Regions from separate parts of the Homo sapiens genome. Here region 1 is linked to region 2. Evidence: promoter capture Hi-C in human tissues and cell types (Jung and others, 2019). All regions are on one chromosome and are shown on one strand. The core of a region is centred on a gene start or on the middle of the fragment in contact, and the rest is flanking DNA. Distances in the headings are between cores, read along the strand shown. Region 1 has its middle 11 kb from the start of OR1J1. Region 2 holds the start of OR1Q1 (olfactory receptor family 1 subfamily Q member 1).

Region 1 (6,277 bases), core at 3,778-6,277, 120 kb before region 2:
TAGAACCATGTCTCTAAGTTTCTCACCATTCTTCAGATTATCTGGGTTAGTTTTGTTTTCTAAGTGAACATGTAGTGTGATGTGATTTTCAGAACAACATTGAGCCTTTCCTGTCCCTACCCAAGACATCACCCTCAATAGCTTGCTGATATCTGAAATTCTTTTAGCAAGAGAAAAAGGGCTTTAAGTTTCCAACTAGAGATTAGGTTTCAAGTTAAGTTTTCCTGGGAGAGAGAGCCCTATGGCCAACACTCTAACTCAGATAGAATGGCTGAGAGCAATTTATTTGGGGATCCAGGTTTGGATGGCAGAACAAATGCACTGGCTTTCTCAGACAAAGTGAGGAGACAAGGTTGGAGATTACAGGCAGAATGAAAGCAGAGGCTGCAGACACTGAGAACAAATTTACTATCTTTCCAGTTTGGCTGCAATGACTGCTGTAAGGCTGGGCTGTAGAAATAGTTGAATTGTTAAGAAATCTGATGTAGTGCTTAATTTGTACCAGGTGATTTTCAAATAATATTCACCTGTTCCCACATAAGTTTTTTTTTTTTTTTTTGAGGTGGAGTCTCTGTCACTCAGGCTGGAGTGCAGTGCAGTGGAACCATCTCGACTCACTGCAACCTCTGCCTCCCGGGTTCAAGCAATTCTCCTGTCTCAGCCTCCCGAGTAGCTGGGATTACAGGTGCCCACTAGCATGCCAGGCCAATTTTTGTATTTTTAGTTGAGAGGGGGTTTCACCATATTGCCAGGCTGGCCTTGAACTCCTGACATCAAGTGATCCACCCACCTTGGCCTCCCAAAGTGCTGGGATTACAGGCATGAACCGCTGTGCCCAGCCAATGTAGGCATTCTGATCCTCACTTTGGAGAGGAGAACACTGGGATTCAGTGATGAAACTTGCCCAGTATTATAGCACTAGTATATTGTGAGCCTGGGAATTGATAGCAGGTCCATCTGGCTTCAAAGACTATATTCTTCCCACTCTATTAAAAGCCCTTATTAAATATATCTTCAAATAGGACAATATTTGCTGCCTGAGAGCACTCAAGAATTTCATGAAGTAAATTGGAGAGTTTAAGGATGAATAAAAATCTATAGTTTCAAGATTTGTGCCATGATGGTGATGTCAGTAATACTGATAATAAAAATTAGAATAGCAATCATTCATTAATCACATATTTATTGTGTGAATAATAATATAGGCCAGCTGCTGTGATGCAATTTATATCATATCAGCCTAACAGGATCACAAAATGGCATTATTCTCATCTAACCAATTGGAAAGTAGGGTTTACAGAGTATAAATAATTTGCCTAAAATTCTACATCATGAAAATGATGGGGAGGTCATTCAATCCTGTGTTTGTCTGATTTCAAACTCATGCTGCTAATCATCATGTCGTATTGCCTCCAGCAGAGCATTGATGGAAAAGACATCTGGATATGCACCTGTCATTAAAGAGGTGGAATCTGTAATTTCTTAAAAGCCTTTGCATAGATGTATTGCTTCAGTCTTTAATCAGATGATCAGAAGAGAATAGAGAAACCAGGAAATCAGTTACTGGATTTACGAAGGCAGCTTCCCAGAAAGTAAATTTCTCGGGGTCCCAGGAAAAAAACAAATAAGACCCTGGCCAGTGTTGTTGTTGATACCTATATTCCATCAGTAAGGGAAAGGTTAAGGCAACTATGGTACACATTATTGAAAAGAATATGTAGTCAATAAAATAAATTCATTAAAAGCTTATGATATAATTTTTAAAGGACATAATAGGAAATTGCATGTAGGTATGTTTATAACTATTTATAAAAATGCAGATTATTATTATTTTTTAAACCTTGAAGAATGTGCTCATAGCTGGGATGCAGGCCAGATATTCAGCAAAACTGTGAGAGAACATTTTCCTAAAGAGGAAAGTACAAACACCAGAGAATAATAATAATGATGTCCACCCTAAATTATTTGATGTAATACAAAAATTATATAAACCACCTGGCACATGTGTACTCATCTGCAAGATTTTGGAGGAGATGATTAACACACACACACACACACACACACACACACACAAACTGCTTAATGGAGTCTGTAAGCATTGGTCTTACCTAGTTCAGTGATAAATTCAAATATTGTCAGCTCCTTGGTATGAACCAATCATTCATTTTCTCTCCAAAAGTCTTAGAGCTGGAACAGTGAGAAAAGTCATGAGCTCAACCCTGAAGTGGAGAAGAGGCACATTCTTTGTTTTTCACCAGCCACAAGGCTACAGCAAGAGTATCTCCCTTTACCTGCCTGGATGGGAACCCAGGGGACTGGTGCCAGAAGTCTGTGGTGAGACACAGTTAGGGGCTAATTACTGTATTTCCCTTAATATTCCCAGTTGAAATGTGCCTTTGCCGGACACCAAGGACAGTCAACTCCTATGGGAATATAAATAAGAACTTTTATTATGTACAGATTTTTTTTATTTATAAAGAACTTTCACATCTATAAGATTTTTTAAGCATCACAATAATATTTGATGTAGATAGTATTTTTCCCATTTATTGAGTTTGACAATGTCTCAAAAGTAAATGGTTAAATGAGTATTCAAACATAAACACATTAACTTCAAACCTAAAGCCTGGTTTCATTCTAGGCTTTCTTCCATGTTGCCTCCCTTATATTAGTGAGCTCTATATTTTAAATAATTCTTTTGGGTTTTTTGTTTGTTTGTTTTGTTTTTGTTTTATTTTTGTTTTGAGACAGTTCTGTTGCCCAGGCTGGAGTGCAGTGGCATGATCTCAGCTCACTGCAACCTCTGCCTCCTGGGTTCAAGTGATTCTCATGCCTCAGCCTCCCAAGTAACTGGAATTACAGGTGTGTGCCACCACGTCCAGCTAATTTTTTGTATTTTTAGTAGAAATGGGGTTTTGCCATGTTGCCCAGGGTGGTCTCAAACTCCTGAGCTCAGGTGATCTGCCCGCCTCAGCCTCCCAGAGTGCCTGGATTATAGGCGTGAGCCACCGCTCCTGGCCTATACAGACTTCCTCCTTCCCACATTCAATTTGGAACTGGAAGGAGAGGTGTTACTAGTCCCTGAGGATTAAGAACACTTTTCAAGGACTAGAGATTTATTTTCCTCATGGGAAACACCTGAATACATGCAGGATTTATTTTTGGTTAGTGATGACACATAATAATAGTTGGAACAGACTCAGGGCTCAAAAAGTATTCTTTGACCATAAAAATGAGTGTGAGAATCTTCAGAAACCTGCTACATTCAGGTTGGCAAAAATATAAAAGAGACGGAGAATTAAGTGGAGGAGATTGCTTTTTTCATTATTTCTTTGAATAATTTGTGCATTCATTTACTCATTCAGAAGAATATTGTATAAATATGATGTGGCAAGAATTTTGTGAGGCACTGTAAGTAAAGAAAACACAAGTTTCTTTTTTTAAAATTTATTATACTCTAAGTTCTGGGGTACATGTGCAGAATGTGCAGGTTTGTTATATAGGTATACACATGTCATGGTGGTTTGCTGCACCCATTACCCATCGTCTACATTAGGTATTTCTCTTAATGCTATCCCTCCCCTAACCCCCCCACCCATTGACAGGCCCTGGTGTGTGATGTTCCCATCTCTGTGTCCATGGGAAAACACAATTTTCTGTCCCCAAAGAGTTCCCAATCCATTGAATGAGATCGACAAAACCGTCCACATCAGACACTGTAATGAAGGTAAGAGCCGAGTGCTGTGGGAACACAAAGGGGGGCATCAAACCCAAATTAAAGGCATCAAGCAAGTGTTCTGTGTGGGAAACTTATGAGGGGAGAAGAAAAGACACACACACCATTCCTTTATTCCATATATAAATATATATATATATATTTACACTCGCCAGACTACGGAGGATTCACCACCAGACTGGAAAGCAACAGCCTGGGTTCCAGAGTCAGATACAAAACTCACCAGACTGTGGAGGATTCACCACCAGACTGGGAAGAAACAGCCTGGGCTCCAGAGTCGGCCACTTGTCCGTGCACAGACAAGGAGAGGTTTCATGAAGCTTCGGTGCTAGGGTCTGGGACCCTAGCTCTTTTTGTAAGAAGTTGTTTTGCATGAGGCCCAGTGACGAGGGCCCTTTGCGACTGGGCTCAAGGAACACAAAAAGATCAACTTGTTTTTGCAATTATCTATTGTTTTTCAATAACCAATGTATAGGAATAGATTGAAATAGAGATTTCTCCGAAACAGTGCTGGATGAATGCCTCAAGGGGCTCACACAACCTGTTCCCGGACTTGGTGACCATTGTTTGTGTCCACGTTCAATTGAGTTCAAATTTAATATTTAACTTTTTCTCCACATTGGGCCTCAATTTGATACTCAGTTGTAGGAAAATACCCTTACAGATACATGGGGAAGGCACAGTTGATAGATTACAGATACATGGTAAGCACAGGAGAATTAAAAACGCAATTAATAAAAACCACACCTACGATAGCTTTGCAAGGAGAGTAATATTGTGAGAATTGTCAGGGATAGACACATAACATTTAGTATGCAGTAAGGCACAAACCCCTCCTTGGGCTGTGGTAAGCATATCTAATGCCTCTCGATTTTGCAACACAACAGTGCACGGCTGAGCAAATTCATCTGATAACATAAGTCCAGTGCTACTATCATTAAGAGCTTTTTCTACATGTAAGCTTAATATTTTAATTTGTTGCTGAAGCAGGATTGTACTGGTGGCAGGGGAGAATACTGTGATAGGGTACCATCATCAGGGAGTCTGGCACATTCATAACCAGTGATGTTTGTAAGCATCTAGATTACTGGGGAGGGAATATTATCCCAGATGGTGAATGGAATTAATGGCCATCCCCAAATGCATCTCCCCATCCAATGTGGGGTGGTGAGTGTAAATATATATATATCTCTTTTCCTTTATCCCCTTCCCATTGCAACTTGCTTATTATATCAATTTGCTTATTATATCATTGGCTTGTTATATCTGCATTGCCATTTACGTGGGATAAAGCTTGTTTACCCTTAAAGGTATTTTGTGTGTGTCTTTTCTTCTCCCCTCATGCGTTTCCCACACAGAACAGCAAGTAGGCTTGTAGAAAGTTACAAGTAAGCAGAAACTCAAGAAAATCAAAACAAGTAGAAGGTGATGTCAACAACATAGAGGCAGAGCAGTGAAAGGGAGAGAAACAGAGGAATAGGAAAAGACCTACAGAAGAGAAAGGATGGCAAATTTAGGAAACAATTGTCAGAAAAATTAGAGTGGCTAAAATGTACACTTGAACAGGGGAAGAGGTTCAGGATGAGTCCAGAGAAACTAGAAGGAATAAATCATGCAGGACCTTAGAAGCCATATTGAAGAATTTGCATATTACTCAAAAGGAAAGAAAGAGCCATGGAAGGACTTGATCAGCAGATTGACAATCATACTAAACACAGTTGGTATAGTTCAGGAGTGGATAATGAGCATGTGTTTGCAGTGGGCAGAGGACATGTTGGCAGAGCAGGCATGGGGTAGTGGAATGCAAGACCAGAAGCAAAGAGACTCATTAGGAGAAGATGACAGTCATTTAGGTAAGAGATTATGAAAGTGTGTATAAGAGAGTGACCATGATGTTAGAACTATATTGATTTAAGTCTCCGTAGTCAGAATCTAATGGATATAGTAATTTTGATGTGAGTTGATTTTGATAAGAATGTAGAAAATAAGGAGAACAAAGGAGTTGAAAACCTCTCTAAATTTATGGCTTGGACAGCTGAGTGTATGGTTGTGCTATTCACTGAAGGCAATATAGAAGAAAAAGATTTGAGAAGTTGTATTGCATAGAGTATGAGGTACCTATAGGTCATCCATGAGACAAATTTAGTAGGCAGGTGGATATATTTTGGATAGAGATAGAAATTCATGGACTGTCAACATAGAGGAGGATGAGATTGCCTGAAAACAAATGAGGTTAGTAAAAGCTGAGGAAAAAGAAGAAGGAGGGGAGAGAAAGGGAGGAGAGAAGAGGAAAGGAGAAGGGAGAAAAGCAAGGAAAGGGAAGGGAATAGTTGCTGAGGACAGACCACAGGGAACATTGACAATTAAGATAGTAGCAGAGAAATAAAGCCCCCAAAAGACATCAAATAACAACCAGAGATGGAGAAGGAGAATATAAAAATGTAGAGCCAAGGTTAAGTGCTGAAACCATTCATTGGATTTAGTAATAATGAGGATTTCGGTGACATGACTAGGAGCAATGCAAATAAAAGGTGGGAATGG
Region 2 (5,829 bases), core at 617-3,116:
CTAATCCTTGTAACAACTTTAAGTGTAATAAACTATAAAAATCCCCATTTGACAGATGAGAAAATGAAGGCTGGGCTTTTAACCACTGCACAGTGCTGCACGTTTAGATTTCTCAAGGGCTGTCATGGTGAAGAATAACAGGCTTGTTGTGTGAGATCCCAGAGGACCAACCTCATTCTGCGAGACAGAAATGAGAGGCAATTATACTTTAGCTTCTCCTGTAAAAAAAAAAAAAAAAAAAAAAATCTGACAACTAGAGCTTCCTGCCACTAAAAGCGTTCAAAAGGAGAAAGGATGATTATTTCCCCAGGATCCTATAAAAAGAGACTGAACATTGATTGAGAAGTTGGGTCAAGTTCTCAATCAATGAGTTTATAGTTTTCAATGATTTATAGTTTTTGCTTATATATGCTTTTTTATTAAGACCCATGCGCTTTTAAAAAGAGGCATATAAAATTATCCATTTGATGTTTAAATAGCTATAAGTATATAATACATGGAGTATTGTACTTTTAAAACAAAACTTTACATTATTTCTTAAAATGTACCCAATGACATCTAAACACAGAGTGATTTGATAATCACATCATTCATTTTTAAAATGCAAGAACAAAGTCATCCTGAAAATGTGTATGTTTTACATTATTCCTTCTCCATTTAAACATGTATTTCCATTCTTCTCCTATACAAATTTTATCCTGTTGTAATAAATGTTTATGCTGGAAAGTCTCTTATAATCACCTATATTACTTTTCACAATAAAAAATAAAAGTTTTTTTATTTCTTATGACCACAAAATTTTGTGTTAAAATAATTATGAAAAATCATCTACATTGAGTTATTATCACAATTATTACTAATTGGCACCAATTTGGTCAGTTTAAACAACTGACCAAAACTATGTAATTGTTAGCTTCAATTATATTAAGTTGCCAACATTCACCTATTTTGATCTACAAAAATAGTAATTTCATATGGTAATATATCACAAATTTTGAAAATAATTGTTATTCCTAAAAAGATTTTAATTAAAGGCATCTAGTAGGACTTTTTTAGTTCATATATCTAGAAATGAGTATTACTTATTACTAAAGTAAGTCAAAATCAACATCAATTATATTACCATTTAGTTTTCATTTGTTACATGGGAAACAAGATTATGCACTAGGTGACATCTTAAAGATAAGAAGAGTTTAGAAAAGAGAACTGTGGAAATTGAGGATCTAGACAATTATTTTCCTAAAACCATTATTCTATGTACTGAGAAGTCTCTGGAGATCAGCAAGAGTATGTGTCCCCCAAAGTGAAAATTACTGAACCAAATGACCTCTGACCTCCCTTTCAGCAGGCAGATTCCTTGGTTATATAGCTCATCAATAGGTCTTATTACCATGAATAAGATGGCTTGGTTTTAATCTGGGGAGTCATGTCATATAGTGGCTAATAGTATAATCTTTGGCACCAGATAAATGTGACTTAAATTGATATTTTGCTCTTTATGAACTTAAACTTTCCGTGCCTGTTTTCAAATTTGTAAAAGTGAAATAATAATAATAATAATAGTAGTAGTAGTAATAATAGCCTCATAGAGTTATTGATTTAAATGTGATAACACAGAAAAGTCCCTGGTTTAAGGTAAATGTTCTGTAAATGTTAGCTATGGGGCTATTAGGTTGGTGCAAAAGTAATTGTGGTTTTTAGCAGTACTTTTAATAATGATGATGTTAATGAAAAATCCATATTATCTTGGAAAAGTCATAAGCACTTAATCCCTTTATCAGCACAGTGTGTAGTTTACACTGGGGCACAACAGTGACTATATGTCCAAGTCTATAGAACTAATTCTTTTTGTTCTTATGGCAACAGATGGACAACAGCAACTGGACCAGTGTGTCCCATTTTGTTCTCTTGGGCATTTCCACCCACCCAGAAGAGCAAATCCCACTCTTCCTTGTTTTCTCACTCATGTACGCAATCAATATTTCTGGCAACTTGGCCATCATCACACTGATTCTCTCTGCTCCACGCCTCCACATCCCCATGTACATCTTCCTCAGTAACTTGGCCTTGACAGACATCTGCTTCACCTCCACCACGGTCCCCAAGATGCTGCAGATTATTTTCTCCCCTACAAAGGTAATTTCCTACACAGGCTGTTTAGCCCAAACTTATTTCTTCATTTGCTTCGCCGTCATGGAAAACTTCATCCTGGCTGTGATGGCCTATGACAGGTACATTGCCATCTGCCACCCTTTCCACTACACTATGATCCTGACTAGAATGCTGTGTGTGAAGATGGTGGTCATGTGCCATGCTCTCTCCCACCTTCATGCCATGCTGCATACCTTTCTCATAGGCCAACTAATCTTCTGTGCAGATAACAGAATCCCCCACTTCTTCTGTGACCTCTACGCTCTGATGAAGATCTCCTGCACCAGCACCTACCTCAACACCCTTATGATTCACACAGAAGGTGCTGTTGTAATCAGTGGAGCTCTGGCCTTCATTACTGCCTCCTATGCCTGCATCATCCTGGTGGTCCTCCGGATCCCCTCAGCCAAGGGCAGGTGGAAAACCTTTTCTACCTGCGGCTCCCACCTCACTGTGGTGGCCATATTCTATGGCACCCTCAGTTGGGTCTACTTCCGGCCCCTTTCCAGCTATTCAGTGACCAAGGGTCGCATTATAACAGTCGTGTACACAGTGGTGACTCCCATGCTGAACCCCTTCATCTACAGCCTGAGGAATGGGGATGTCAAGGGAGGCTTCATGAAATGGATGAGCAGAATGCAGACTTTTTTCTTTAGATAAAACCCCAAACACAGTTCAGAGGTTTACCTATGGTTCTGGAGAAATAATGTTGTGCCTCACAGATCTGCTTTCTTTAGAACTTTCCAGAAATATCTAAATTAGCTATATATCATGTGTTTTCTCACTGGATATTGCCCAGAGAAATCTATTAAATCCAAAGTACATAAAACAAAAAGGAACCACCATGTACTTAGTGTAAAACACTAGCGTTTCTTTAACTATAATTAACAGGGTTCTCTGCAATTAAACACTAGGGTTGTAACTCTCAGAGTTCTTAGATGTAGGCAATAGAAACTGATTCTGGCTTATGCATGGAGGAAATGAGTTTCTTGAAAAGATATGTGGAGCTCATGCATTTCCAAGGCTAGGGAACTAGACTCAAGAAAAATGGACAAGAATAATAAAGGTCATATCATCAGAACTGCAGTGAAAATCATATCCCAGAACTAGTCTAATGAGGACACTACTGTAGCCACCAAACTCTATTCACTGCAGCTTGTACCTCCTCCTATACTACCAGCAGTAGTCACTGGGCATAGTTCTTGGAGGTCTATAAACTGGTTATTACCACTTCCAGAAAGAACTGTCCCCTTCTTATTCTTTTCACTACTATGTCTAGATTCAAAATAAGGTGGTGCATCTGACTGGTCAAGAATTTGGTCACCAACACATCCCCTAGCTGCCAGGAAAACTAGGAGAGCAATATTGGTGCTTTTATTTTCTATAAGTTTATAGAAGTCAGGTGAAATGGGGTAACTACTCCAATATAAGAAGAGGAACATAATGATAATGTCTACTATTTGGAGTCAGAAGTTATATATGCTCCAGAATGAAGCACTGTCATGCTTACCAATTTGCATTTTTCTTAACCTGCTTTACCTGCACTACTCAGGGATAAGTCAAACTCATTTTGCCTCAGCATGTTCCTGATCTCTTCTGTAGTTGATATGTGGAACTGGTCTAATAGTGGGTGAAAATTGATTTGTCTTCTGACCAATCAATACTGGGCATGAAGAACAGGTTCAAGCATCAAGAGTCTGTTAAAATGTTGATTCTTCAATATTATTAAAAGACCATACTGCCCAAAGAAATTTATAGATTCAATGCTATTCCTATGAAACTACCAATGACATTTGTCACATAATTAGAAAAAACTATTCTAAAATCCACATGGAACCAAAAAAGAGCCCAAATAGCCAAAGCAATCCTAAGCAACAGGGACAAAGCCAGAAGCATCACACTATCCAAATTCAAACTATACTACAAGGCTACAGCAACCAAAACAGCATGGTACTGGTACCAAAACAGACACATAGAGCAATGGAACAGAATAGAGAACCCAGAAGTAAACAACTACATGTTAGCTGGTTATGTTGAACATTAATTGATGCAGTTTCTTCATGCATCGATGGTCTTTACAATTTGGCATGTTTTTTCAGTGGCTGGTACCGGTTGTTACCTTCCATGTTTAGTGCTTCCTTGAGGAGCTCTTGTAAGGCAGGGCTGGTGGTAATAAAATCTCTCAGCATTTGCTTGTCTGTAAAGGATTTTATTTCCCCTTCATTTATGAAGCTTAGTTTGGCTAGATAGGGAATTCTATGTTGAAAATTCTTTTAAGAATGTTGAATATTGGCCCCCACTCTCTTCTGGCTTGTAGGGTTTCTGCAGAGAGATCCACTGTTAGTCTGATGGGCTTCCCTTTGTGGGTAACTTGCCTTTTTCTCTGGCTGCCCTTAACATTTTTTCCTTCATTTCAACCTTGGTGAATCTGACAATTATGTGTCTTGGGATTGCTCTTCTCAAGGAGTATCTTTGTGGTATCCTCTGTATTTCCTGAATTTCAAGGTTGGCCTGCCTTGCTAGGTTGGGGAAGTTCTCCTGGATAATATCCTGAAGAGTGTTTTCCAACTTGGTTCCATTCTCCCCATCACTTTTAGGTACACCAATCCAACGTAGATTTGGTCTTTTCACATAGTCCCACATTTCTTGGAGGCTTTGTTCATTTCTTTTTACTCTTTTTTCTCTAATCTTGTCTTCTCATTTTATTTCATTAATTTGATCTTCAATCACTTATGTCCTTTCTTCCACTTGATCGAATCAGCTATTGAAGCTTGTGCATGCATCACAAAGTTCTCGTGCCATGGTTTTCAGCTCCATCAGGTCATTTAAGGTTTTCTGTACACTGTTTATTCTAGTTAACCGTTCGTCTAACCTTTTTTCAAGGTTTTTAGCATCCTTGTGATGGGTTAGAACATGCGCCTTTGGCTCGGAGAAGTTTGTTATTACCGACCTTCTGAAGCTTACTTCTGTCAACTTGTCAAACTCATTCTCCATCCAGTTTTGTTCTCTTGCTGGCGAGGAGCTGTGATCCTTTGGAGGAGAAGAGGTGCTCTGGTTTTTGGAATTTTCAGCTTTTCTGCTCTGCTTTTTCCCCAACTTTGTGGTTTTATCTACCTTTGGTCTTTGATGTTGGTGACCTACAGATGGGGTTTTGGTGTGGATGTCCTTTTCATTGATGTTGATGCTATTATTTTCTGTTTGTTAGTTTTCCTTCTACCACTCACACCCCTCAGCTTCAGGTCTGTTGGAGTTTGCTGGAGGTGCACTCCAGACCCTGTTTTCCTGGGTCTCACCACTGGAGGCTGCAGAACAGCAAATATTGCAGAACAGCAAATATTGCTGCCTGATCCTTCCTCTGGAAGCTTCGTCCCAGAGGGGCACCCGCCTGTATGAGTTGTCTGTCGGCCCATACTGGGAGCTGTCTCCCAGTCAGGCTACACGGAGGTCCGGGACCCTCTTGAGGAGGCAGTCTGTCTGTTCTCAGAGCTTGAACACCATGCTGGGAGAACCACTGCTCTTTATTGTATATATTCAAAAGCTGGAAGAAAGGATTTTGAATATCTCCAACACCAAGAAATGATGAATGTTTGTCATGATGAATATGTTATTTATCCTGATTTAATCATTATATATTGTGTACATATATCAACATGTCACACTATACTCCATATATATGAA

Evidence for each region. The method cuts DNA at HindIII sites, captures the fragments that hold promoters and counts their contacts. A contact is called where the count stands out against the background at its distance.
Region 1: a contact is called between a fragment that was not itself captured here and the fragment with the promoter of OR1Q1 in region 2, in 2 of the 25 tissues and cell types used here (H1 embryonic stem cells and stomach).

The regions. Positions count from the first base shown.
Region 1 is chr9:122,485,419-122,491,695 of GRCh38, forward strand. It overlaps a transcript of OR1J2 not described here. Among named protein-coding and RNA genes, the nearest start is that of OR1J1, 11 kb to the left of the region's middle. The HindIII fragment of the contact is 4,254 bases long and covers 2,901-6,277 here.
Region 2 is chr9:122,612,872-122,618,700 of GRCh38, forward strand. It overlaps OR1Q1 (olfactory receptor family 1 subfamily Q member 1), which reads left to right and starts at 1,867. Exons shown (of 1, transcript NM_012364.1): 1 at 1,867-2,811. The coding sequence starts at 1,867. The coding sequence ends at 2,811. All of the region lies in intron 1 of LOC124902265 (a long non-coding RNA gene), which reads left to right. The HindIII fragment of the contact is 8,234 bases long and covers 1-4,652 here.